3 separate regions of the Homo sapiens genome follow, and all the other regions are linked to region 1. Evidence: promoter capture Hi-C in human tissues and cell types (Jung and others, 2019). All regions are on one chromosome and are shown on one strand. The core of a region is centred on a gene start or on the middle of the fragment in contact, and the rest is flanking DNA. Distances in the headings are between cores, read along the strand shown. Region 1 holds the start of KCNA4 (potassium voltage-gated channel subfamily A member 4). Region 2 has its middle 22 kb from the start of LINC01616. Region 3 overlaps ARL14EP-DT (ARL14EP divergent transcript).

The links. The method cuts DNA at HindIII sites, captures the fragments that hold promoters and counts their contacts. A contact is called where the count stands out against the background at its distance.
Region 2: a fragment that was not itself captured here is called in contact with the fragment with the promoter of KCNA4 in region 1 in 2 of the 25 tissues and cell types used here (dorsolateral prefrontal cortex and hippocampus).
Region 3: a fragment that was not itself captured here is called in contact with the fragment with the promoter of KCNA4 in region 1 in 4 of the 25 tissues and cell types used here (hippocampus, mesenchymal stem cells, pancreas and 1 more).

Annotation. Positions count from the first base shown.
Region 1 is chr11:30,014,926-30,018,789 of GRCh38, forward strand. It overlaps KCNA4 (potassium voltage-gated channel subfamily A member 4), which reads right to left and starts at 2,105. Exons shown (of 2, transcript NM_002233.4): 1 at 1,647-2,105. The HindIII fragment of the contact is 10,149 bases long and covers 1-3,772 here.
Region 2 is chr11:29,958,566-29,962,429 of GRCh38, forward strand. No RefSeq gene overlaps it. Among named protein-coding and RNA genes, the nearest start is that of LINC01616, 22 kb to the right of the region's middle. The HindIII fragment of the contact is 4,926 bases long and covers 1-3,864 here.
Region 3 is chr11:30,066,033-30,069,896 of GRCh38, forward strand. All of the region lies in intron 1 of ARL14EP-DT (ARL14EP divergent transcript), which reads right to left. Among named protein-coding and RNA genes, the nearest start is that of KCNA4, 51 kb to the left of the region's middle. The HindIII fragment of the contact is 3,874 bases long and covers 136-3,864 here.

The sequences.
Region 1 (3,864 bases), core at 855-3,354:
CCATTAACAGGATTCAGCTCTTGACCACCTGCTGCTCCTTGCTGATCCTGTCAGCCTAAAAGCCTAAACACACTGAATTTTATGAAGTGACAAGCATGGAAGTGGCAAACAGAGGTCTTCCCAATCATACACCCCTTCCCAATCATATATATTTTCCTAGGGCAAGAAGGGCATTTGATTGCAACACAAACTCCAGAAAATACACCACAGAGGGCATCTCACATGCCATCTCCCTTCCTTTGCCTGACTCCTAACATCATCTCATACTCTGAAATGTTTACCCTCAAGGAGTTTCCAAATCCCTACTTACAAAACCATCCTGGGGTGACATTCGCAGTGGAGTGTCAGGCCAACATCCTTTCAAGACCGGTACAGACCAAATAGCCTGAGAGTTTGCTCAGTTTCTTCCCCAACTCCCCTAAAACAATTATAATTTCAATGAAGCCCCAATGTAACCCAAGTTCCTGTATAGTTGAATACTACACACACTGCCTTCCCACCCAACTGACTCCCAGAAGGTCATGAATTAGCGAGTCTTCTAATTCACCATCAGCTCTTCGGGAGTTCTAGAACTGCCCTCTTTCTGCTCTACACCAAATAATTTCACATTTATTTATTTATTTGGGATTGTTAGTTTTTGTTTATCTAACTCCCTCCTCCACCCTACAAGTAGCAAATTGCCTTCCTTTTAATCATCTACTAGTTACTTCACTATCCCTGATCTAGAAAGAAAGGGAGAGAGAAAGAAAAGAAGAGAAAAGAAAAATCATTCCTCCCAGCAAATCAGACTGGTTTAAAATCTCTCTTCTTTCTCAAGGTACTCTTGTTAGGAGAATCTATTCAAGCCAATTCCCAGGAGCCTTTATGAGAGAGATCTTTGCAGAGGAATTTGTCTTCTTCTTTAACACCATTAAACTAATAGGATTTTGCAGACTACCTATTCCCCAATCCCGGCGCCCCCAAACAACAGCCAAGCATCCCGCCCCTCCTCCTCTCACCCCTCCAACAACAAGGCTGTTCGTCTCTCAGTGCTAATTCCTGCAACTGTGTCACTGTCAGGGTGGTACCTGAACCTTAGAGAGAGAGAGAGAGAGAAAGAGAGAGAAACTGAGAGAGGGAATCAGAAAAGCCACCACCGTGAGAAATATACACTTCAACGCACGCCATTTATGCAGCCCCTATGTATGTTGCTCAAATGCTCGGAAAATGCACGCAAATCCAAACGTTGGAAGAGGCAGCAATTCAGACCCGTTCACCGGCTGTTCCCAAAAGAAGGGAACCGGTGCGGCTGGGAGGAGGCGAAACGATGCTAAATCTTAACCCCCCTCTCGTTGGGAAACGACATCTTTAATCGCGCCCTCGCCTCCAGACCTCGGTTCCCGCTCCAGCACGTTAAGCAGGGCGCACTCACCGCATCCCCGGGTTTGGGAAAATAACAACTGTTGGCCCCCCGGAGCGCCGCGCAGCATCCGCACCTCCCTTCTCCCACCTCCTGGTTTATTTTTAACCGCCTTCCATTCATGCCCTTCTGTCACATTCCCGATATTATTTATCCCTCAAATGTCCACTGTTTCTTAACAGCCAAAATAAGAAGGTAGAGGAAAGATACAAAAAAAAAAAAAAAAAAAAAAAGGTATCATACTTACCGTTCCCCGGCGGGGCGAAAAATAAAAATAAAGAAAATCCACCGGCTGGCTTGTTTTTCCCCCTCAAGCTGCAACAGCTGGAGGAGGGGAAGAATGATCCTGGGTGGGGGGCGGGGGGTGGTAAAAGGAATCACTCGGGTTTGGCAGGTGGAGGCTCCAAATATCCACGGAACAAGTTCTGTTGCCTGGCCCGAGGGGTGCACAGAGTCCTCGCGGCTGGAGCCTGGGGGTGGGGGTTGGGGCTGCCCCAGAGAAGACCCCAAGACTCCTGGTTCCTCTGGAGTTCAGCACAGGAGGGATTGCCTGGGAAAGGAAGTCAAGGTTCCCCCGAAAAGAAACAAAATCCTAGACAGCAGCGATCACTTGTTAAGCCCGAATTCCTCCTCCAACATCCATCCCTCTCTCGCTCTCGCTGGCTGCGGGAGCAGCACACGCCTCCCCTGGCCGCGAACGCGCTCTGGGCGGGGGCGGGGCCAGGGCCGAACCGAGGGTGTGGCGTTCGCGACGGTCGCCAGGGGCGCCTCCCGGCGCGGCGGGGCGGGTGCAGTCACGACGCCGCGACTCCCCGCACCCCGGCTGGGCCCCCCGACTCCCAGGATCTGGGATCGATTCCAGGAGTCTTTGGCTGTGGTCCCCACAGGCGAGGAGCAAATCCTGGAGAAGTGTCCCCGTTGGGGCCGGAATAGGGGTTTCGACGGCAGCGCGGGAGTCCCCAGAGGGCTTGGGAGCGGGGAGCTCCAATGGGAGGTGCAGTCCCGAAAATGGGGTCCTCTGGGACATCTCCTCTACCTAACTTGCTTTCTCTATATCTCCCCTCGAGCCCCGAGCCCCGTCTTCTTTTCCCCACCCCATCCCCTCCCAAAGCGGGTTTGTTGGGTTGGGAGCCGGGTGCATCTCCGGCGAGGCCACGGGCGGGGAGCCCTCCTGTGCCTGCCAGAGCGCCCAGATCCCTCAGTCTCCGTCTCCTTTGCACACAGGAGTTGGGAGGCTTCAGCGCCGGGGTTGGGCCTCAGGGGCGCGGAGGAGACCGACTTTCAACCTGTATTCAATCCCGGGCAGGGGAATGTTACAGAAATTGGAATCAGGCCCAGGCTAGGGGCTGCGCACAGGAGGCAGCAGTTCTAGGGGAGGAGGGTTGGAGAGATGAGTAAGTTGCAGGGTGGGCCAGGGGCTGAGGGCTTTGGAAGGCGGGGGAAGAGCCCGCAGCCAACCTGTTGCTGCAAAAACAAATACGGCTCTGGTATCGACTCCCTGAGGGCTCTTTGGATCCTTCAGGACAGAAATCAAGGGATATCGCAGCAAAAAGCAAGTTTTTTTGGTTTTCTTTCTTTCTTTCTTTTAATTAAAGCTTGTGCGCACAAGGGAGCTAACACCAAGAAAAAAAAAAGTGGGCTGTTCCTCGAAGTCAGGGTGTGGGTTTCTTTTACGGGCCTCTCCCGTAAGGGGAAATAAGGAGAACTATAGACAGGGCATGTAGAGGTGGAGTTTTTCTGGTGCATGCATGGTGGTTTAACATGCTTCTTCATAGGACGTATGTATCATTAGCATCTTAAATCTCCACCTCTGGGAAAGATTTTTTGCATTAAATTAAGGAAAAGGTCACTATGAGTTGAAAGTTAAACCTAGCCGCCGCGCATGCCAGGGCCTCGGGCAAGTCCCTGGTCCCCTAAAGCCGAAACTTCTGGTTAATAGCTTCTTGAGCTTTTCATGCTAATTGGCTGGAGTTACAGTTTGAGGAAGGGTCTCTCCTTGTTTCTTGTTTATTTCTTCGGACCACATCAAAACAGGAAAGTAGACAGTTTGCCTGTCTCAGGCTTGCCAGAATCAACCGGGCGAGAGGTTTGGCTCCCGGGAGGACTCTATCTTAGTGATCTCTCCCACTGCCCACCTCCATTTAAAAAAAAAAAAAAAAAAAAAAGGGTTTTGCTGTCCATCTCCACCCCACTCCCACACACGCGAGCGCGTGCGCACACACACAAACAAACACACACACACACACACACACACACACAAATAACCAGAAGCCCACGTGGCGACGGGGTCTCCCTAGACACCTCTCCCAGCTCGCCCGATGGACCAAGCAGGCAGTGGCAGCGCTATGCCCCGGACTGCTGGAGCAAATCCGACCTTGGGCTGGTTGGTTGGCGCCAGGACTGTCACTGTCGTCCTCGGGGCGGCAGCTTTGTTCAAGGGCTCTATTGGGCCTCCTCCTTTTGTG
Region 2 (3,864 bases), core at 881-3,380, 56 kb before region 1:
TAGATAATTAAATCCCTAAGCTTCGGAACTAAATAACCCAGACCATAAAATTATCATTTGCATTTAGAATCAATATAAGAATTATTATTGTCATACTGTTGTACTATGCTTATGAGAGCTACTTGTAAAATACAGTGAATCAAATCACAGAAATAACCTCAGGATCTCTCCCTTGCCCAATCCAACACACACACACACACACACACACACACACACACACACACACACACACACACAATTAGACTTCCAACATTATGGATGGTTTGTGGGAAAAAAAAAAAGTCTTTTTTTAAAGGCTTAATTCTAGTTTCAACAATCTGTCCAGAATTACTACCCCTTTCTGATGAAAAGAAAACTCCCCTCCCTCCTTTCACCTATATCTCTAGTCTTCAGATTGTCACACTCACCACAGAAGAGGGGAACAGATAAAATAACATAGTACTTAGAGTCAAGAGACCAAATTTTGAGCCCATATTCCACTATTACCCTCAAGGTGACTTTGGGAAACTGTCAGAATGATCTAAACCCTTGTTTATTTCCATTTAAAATGGATAAAGGTAACATTGCCCAACAAATAAAGATTTTCAGTTTATTATTGATGCAGATTAAAAAAAAGCTGTAGCGACAATCCAGATATCATCTGATAGAGGCAAGCTAGCCATTCAGACAGATTGCTAAAGCATTTTTCTTAGCCTTATAGAGGAGACTCAAAAATCTGGCCTATCAGTGTACACAGAGAGGATCTCTTTCTCTCTCAGGGGTAGCCTCACGTTAACTAAGTTCATGAGACTATGTTAACCAGAATATCCTGCTACTATTTTACTATAATAAATATAACTGACCCTCAAAATAGATTAACCTTTCTTTATGCTTGGTGGATGCATTAATATTAATATGGGCCTGCATTCAAATGAAGTCCCACATACATTAATACATAAATTTGCAAGGTCTCTGCATTCTCACCTACCCTTTGAACACTAATTCCAACTTGCTCTACAAATTTTTTCCCTCAAATATATCTAAGGATCTCCCAAGAGTATTCATGTGTCCAAGAGCCATTGTTTGTCACTGTTTTGCACCTGAAAAGGGCATAGCCCTTAAGACTGAATTTGACACTTACTGAAATTAGCATTTACATTTGCTGGCCCCCAACAGTCCTGCTTGCTAGTTTTGGTTAACATTGTCACTGAGTTGCTGTAGGTATTTTTGCATTGCTTTTGGTAGAGTTCCATGAATTCCCCAGACAAACACGATTCTGTGCTGAATGGTAAAGAAATAATGCTGTTACCTTTGAGCTACACTCACTTAATAGTCCCATAGCAAAACTGTTAAATGCCTAAGAATTTCCATGTTTTAGAGAAGTTCTTTCGATTCGACCATATGTAAATGTTTATTCCAAGGCATATCCAAGGTGTCAGGGTGGTTGCATCAAGATGGTTCCAGTGTGTCAGTCATCCTGGGCATGGGATCAGGACTACCCCTCCTTCAAAGTTTAGCCCCTAAAGAGAGACACAGCCTCCCTCATCAGAATTCCTTATGCCTCCAAGAAAGATGAGTTGTTTCAGCACCTCCTTGCTATTTCCCATAACTTGGCATTCATCAAGCCACCCTAATCCATCAGACATATTTCAGTATCTTTGAAACTTAAAAAAAGAGTCAAGCCCTATTTCTTTTCTCCCTGGAAACTCTTATTTCTCATGTAAATTAGCGGCACAAATAAATTCTAGCAAGAGTGATGTCACACAACTTTACCCTGAGGCATCCAAGCTACAGGAGTTTAGAGATGTTTCAGAAAACTGTTAAAGCAATTGTCTTCATCAACAAAGTTTGAACCCTAGACCTATCTAAAATGTCCTATTGTATGCACATGCATGCATGTAAACACACACACACATACACACAGATAGAGAGGGACAGATCACCTAAAGAGATGCTCAAAAAACTTCAGTGCTAATGAAAATGTACCAAATGGAAATCTAGACTGAAAAATTGGATGAAAAATATACAGATCAAGTGAGCAAGTAGGGTACATAATGAACTGCTTGATGGAGCCTAGAAATTTAATGAGCAACTTGAAAAATCATTTAATATCTGGTTGAGAAAGAACTAAAAGATCATTTAATCCAACCCCTTTACTTTATAGCTGAAAAAATGAAGATCTAGATTGATGAAGTGACTTCCCCAAGGTCACCCTGCTCTTCTGAAACAAATTTAGGACTAGAATTTTTCCATGACACTCTACCACTTATGATCCCTTCTTCTGTAATATTTGCTTGAAAGCTTGTCCTTTTGCTACTTAGATGAAAGATTTTCATCAAATCTGTTTAAGAGATCAGGGCACAGTTCTTTGAGTTAGAACACACAAGGCAAAAAAGATGTACAGAAGCCTCATTCCATCCTACAGCAGGAAACCCTTACTTGTAGCCTTCACAAGTAATCATAGTAATACTAATAATTATTATCATGTGTTGAATGTTCCTCATTCTTTGGGCACCATGACAAATTCTTCATGTTTTGTTTTTGGTTTTGGGGGATATCAGTCCTCAGTAAACACATAGAAATGAATTTAGAGAGCTTAGGTAACTTGTCCAAGGTATCTGGTTACTAAGTGACAGACTAGGATTCAAGTCCAGGCCAACTGACAGTACTCTGGAGGCAGAAGCAGATTAAAACCAGTTGTTTAGCATACTTAACCATGAAATAACACTTTTTCATAACCTTTATACCACTCTGACACCTGTTCTACTTTATTACCCCCATTATTGATTTCCATATCTCCTGTTCAATCCCTCCTTCCACCAATCTGTACTGCACACTGTTTCCACATTCACCTTTCTGAAGACTAATATGTGTGTCACACTCTCACTCCAAAGCCATTAAGCAGCTCTTCACAGTCTATTTAATGACTTGATATATAAAGCCTCCCTAATCTGTCCCAATCTACTTTTCTAACATTAGACCCCTTTTCTATCAAATCCTTTCTCTTGTCAATCAAAGTCACTTCCTATCCTTAATATGTATCTTGCAATTTATCCTTCACCCTTCCACATTTACTGAGTACCAACTATGTGCCAGGTCTTGTGTTAAACATTGAAAATAAAAACATAAAAGAGACTCTCCTTAAAGAAGTTTAGAGTGTTACAGACAGTCATTCAAACAAGTGATTTCAGTCAAGCAAAGAGATTATCATACCTTAAGCTGCTCAAAATTTGATGGAAACCAAGGTGAGCTCTGAGCTTTCACCTTTAAGTGTTTTTTTGTTTTGTTTTGTCTGGTATGCCTTTCGCAACCCACACCTCCATCTTCATCTAACTAGATCCCACAGAATCGGGTACAAATGCAACTTCCTTCACAAGGTTTTGCCTCATAATCATGCATATGTTTCTTCCTAAAAAATACAGTGAAAGTTCCCATTAAATGAGTTTTATTTTTTATTTTTAAATCTTGAAAGTTTATTCTTACAAAAGTCAGAAGCAGAAAATAAATGTGCCCAAAGTCTAAGGGTGATTACAAGGATTCTAGTGGTGAAAAGCAATGATTGTTTCTACTTATTTTTGCTTCAAAATATCTGACTCTCCCTTCCCTACTACACCCTATATCAGTTTTTATATTGGCTCACAACTAGACTGAAAAGGGGAGAAGAGGGTAGAAGAATTTTGTAATCTGAATAGCAGAGAGAGAAAAGAACACTAAAAGGACATGTGTGTATTGTGATGGCAAAGTTGCCTTAAATGAAATAAACTGGATTGCAGCAATGAAAGTTACCAGAAAATGGAAGCATAAGCGGGTAGACTCTTGATCTAGACAAGAGCCTTAGATCAAGCCAGAAGTATTGATCTAGCCAGAAGCATGCTGAAGAAATGC
Region 3 (3,864 bases), core at 823-3,322, 51 kb after region 1:
GGGTAACTCGACCTTTCTCTCTGGCTGCCCTTAACACTTTTTCCTTCATTTCAACCTTGGTGAATCTGATAATTATGTGTCTTGGGGTTGCTCTTCTGGAGGATTATCTTTGTGGTGTTCTCTGTATTTCCTGAAATTGAATGTTGGCCTGCCTTGCCATGTTGGGGAAGTTCTCCTGGATAATATCCTGCAGAGTGTTTTCCAACTTGGTTTCATTCTCCCCATCACTTTCAGGTACACCAATCAAACGTAGATTTGGTCTTTTCACATAGTCCCATATTTCTTGGAGGCTTTGTTCATTTCTTTTTACTCTTTTTCTCTAACCTTGTTTTCTCACCTTATTTCATTAATTTCATCTTCAATCACTGATACCCTTTCTTCCACTTGATCAAATCGGCTATTGAAGCTTGTGCATGAATCACGAAGTTCTCGTGCCATTGTTTTCAACTCCATCAGGTCATTTAAGGTCTTCTCTACAGTGTTTATTCTAGTTAGCCATTCGTCTAATCTTTTTTCAAGGTTTTTAGCTTCCTTGCAATGGGTTTGAACATTCTCCTTTAGCTCAGAGAAGTTTGTTATTACTGACCTTCTGAAGCCTACTTCTGTCAACTCATCAGTCATGCTCCATTGCTGGCAAGGAGCTGTGATCCTTTGGAGGAGAAGAGGCACTCTAATTTTTAGAATTTTCAGCTTTTCTGCTTTGGTTTCTCCCCATCTTTGTGGTTTTATCTACCTCTGGTCTTTGATGTTGGTGACCTACAAATGGGGTTTTGGTGTAGATGACCGTTTTGTTGATGTTGATGTTATTCCTTTCTGTTTGTTAGTTTTCCTTCTAACAGTCAGGTCCTTCAGCTGCAGGTCTATTAGAGTTTGCTGGAGTTCCACTCCCAACCCTGTTTGCCTGGGTATCACCAGCAGAGGCTGCAGAACAGCAAATATTATTGCCTAATCCTCCCTCTGGAAGCTTTGTCCCAGAGAGGCAGCCGCCTATATGAGGTGTCTGTCGGCCCCTACTGGGAGGTGTCTCCCAGTTAGGCTACACGGGGGTCAGGGACCCACTTGAGGAGGCAGTCCGTCCGTTCTCAGAGCTCAGTGCCATGCTGGGAGAACCACTGCTGTCTTCAGAGCTGTCAGACAGTGAGGTTTAAGTCTGCAGAAGTTGTCTGCTGCCTTTTGTTCAGCTATGCCCTGCCCCCAGAGGTGGAGTCTAGAGGAAGTAGGCCTTGTTGAGCTGTGATGGGCTCTGCCCAGTTAGAGCTTCCCAGCCACTTTGTTTACTTACTCAAGCCTCAGCAATGGCGGATGCCCCTCTGCCAGCCAGGCTGCCATCCTGCAGATTGATCTCACACTGCAGCGCCAGCAGTGAGTAAGACTCTGTGGGAGTGGGAGCCACCAAGCCAGGCACGGGAGAGAATCACCTTGTCTGCCAGTTGCTAAGACTTTGGGAACAGCACAGTATTTGAGCAAGAGTGTCCCATTTTTCCATGTAGTCTGTCACAGCTTCCCTTGGCTAGGAAAGGGAAATCCCCCAACCCCTTGTGCTTCCCGGGTGAGGCGATGCCCCACCCTGCTTCAGCTTGCCCTCTGTGGGCTGCACCTACTGTTCAACCAGTCCCAATGAGATGAACCAGGTACCTCAGTTGGAAATGCAGAAATCACTTGTCTTCTGCATCAATCCTGCTGGGAGCTGCAGACCGAAGCTGTTCCTTTTTGAACCATCTTGGAACACCCTCCTTATGAATAATTTTATATCTGGCAAACCTATCTGACAAAAATTAAAGAGAAATTAAGACAGTGCTAGGTAAACAAAAACTGAGAGAATTCATCCCTACCAAACCTACCCTACAAGAAAAACTAAAGGGAGTCCTTTAGGAGAAATGAAAACAAACTAGAGAGTAACTCTAATACGAAGAAATAGAAAGATTAATAAGGGTAATTACATAGGCAAATATGAGAGATAGTATAAATATATTTTAGTTTGTAACACTTTTCTTCTTGCATATGGTTAAAAGACATAAAACTGTGTCAATGTGCTTGAAATGTACTAATAAGTAATATGTATAATAATAGCACACAAGTAGGGAGGCAATGGAGCTATAGGAGAGCAAAGCCGATGTATACTATCAAAATTAAGTTGTAAGTTTGAATCTGTAATAGATTGTTTTAAGTTAAGATGTTAATTGTTTTGCACAAAGCTTCTGCATGAAGCCCTAACACAACCCCTTTTGCTCAGGTCATCAGAACACTTATTCTATTTTATGGAATGAAGTGTTGCCCAGTTCTGAAATCACAATAAAGCCAATTAAGATCTTAATTAAGTTTGTTGTAATTTTGTCTTTTGACACCAATTACTTGGTGAATGGATAAACAAAATATGACATATCCATACACTGTACTGTTCAGTTATAAAAGAGAATGAAATATCAACACATTTTATAACATGGCTGAACTGCAAAAACATTATGTGAAGTGAAACCAGCCAGAAGTAAAGGACTACATATTATACAATTCCATTTATATGAAATCTGAAGAAATGTCAAATCTATAAGAAATCAAATTAGTGGTTGACTGGGGCTGGAGAAGGGAACAGAGATTAATTGTAAATATGCTAAAGGGAAATTTTCATGATTAAATCTTCTCAATTGGATTGAGAGAACTGTTGCACAACACTGTAAATTTACTAAAAATTATTGAATAAGATGTTTAAAATTTGTGATTTTTTTGGTATATAAATTATACCTCAATACATGTAAGTATACCTTAATATGTAAAATTCATAAAAGTTATAAGCATCATCCCATCTATCATTTACTTGCTTTAAAATTATTCAACAGATTCCTAATGTTCTTAAGCAAATTTCAAAATCCTGCATACTCAAGTCCCTGCTTGTGCTTCCAGATTTATCTGACCCATCTTTCCCTTCTCATTGTACACCAGGCCCCCTGGCTTTATTGACTTTCTCTTGTTCTTTCAAAAGCTCTACTTGGGGCCAGGCATGGTGGCTCATGCCTGTAATCCCAGCACTTAGGGAGGCCAAGACGGGCAGACCACGAGATCAGGAGATCAAGACCATCCTGGCCAACATGCTGAAACCTCGTCTCTACCAAAATACAAAAAATCAGCCAGGCATGGTGGTGCGCACCTGTAGTCCCAGCTACTTGGGAGGCTGAGGCAGGGGAATTGCTTGAATCTGGGAGGCGGAGATTGCAGTGAGCCAAGATTTTGCCACTGCACTCCAGCCTGGCGACAGAGTGAGACACTGTGTCAAACAACAACAATAACAACAACAACAACAAAAATGCTCTACTTGGTTCCTTTCTTACTCAGATCTTTGTTCTTCCTTCCTTCTTAAACATTTTTAGAGGTATAATTCATACCCCCAAAACTGCACATATTTAATGTCCACATCTTGATGAGTTTGGACATACGGGACATATGCACACACCAACGATACCATCACTGTAACCCAGGTACTAAACATATCCATTACCTCCAAATTTTCCTTGTGTTCTTTTGTGTGTGAGGTTTTTTGTTTTTTTTTTTTCTGTCATTTGGAGTTTTTTTCTTTTTGGCAAGAACACTTAGCATGAGACCTATGCTCTTACATTTTAAAGGATACAATACCATATTGTTAACTACAGGTATATTTTTTCCCTCAGATCTTACAAATGAGCTATCCTCTCTGCCTGCAAAGTGCATCCCACCCTCCCTTTTCTCTCTATTAAAGAGACATCTCACCAAAACACCACCAGTTGTGATCATATTATCCTCATTGTTTATGTGTATTATCTTCTTTGTTTATGTGTCTGTTTCTCTTGCCATCAGGGTAGTGACATTTTATCTCCCAGTGTCTAGAACAGTGTC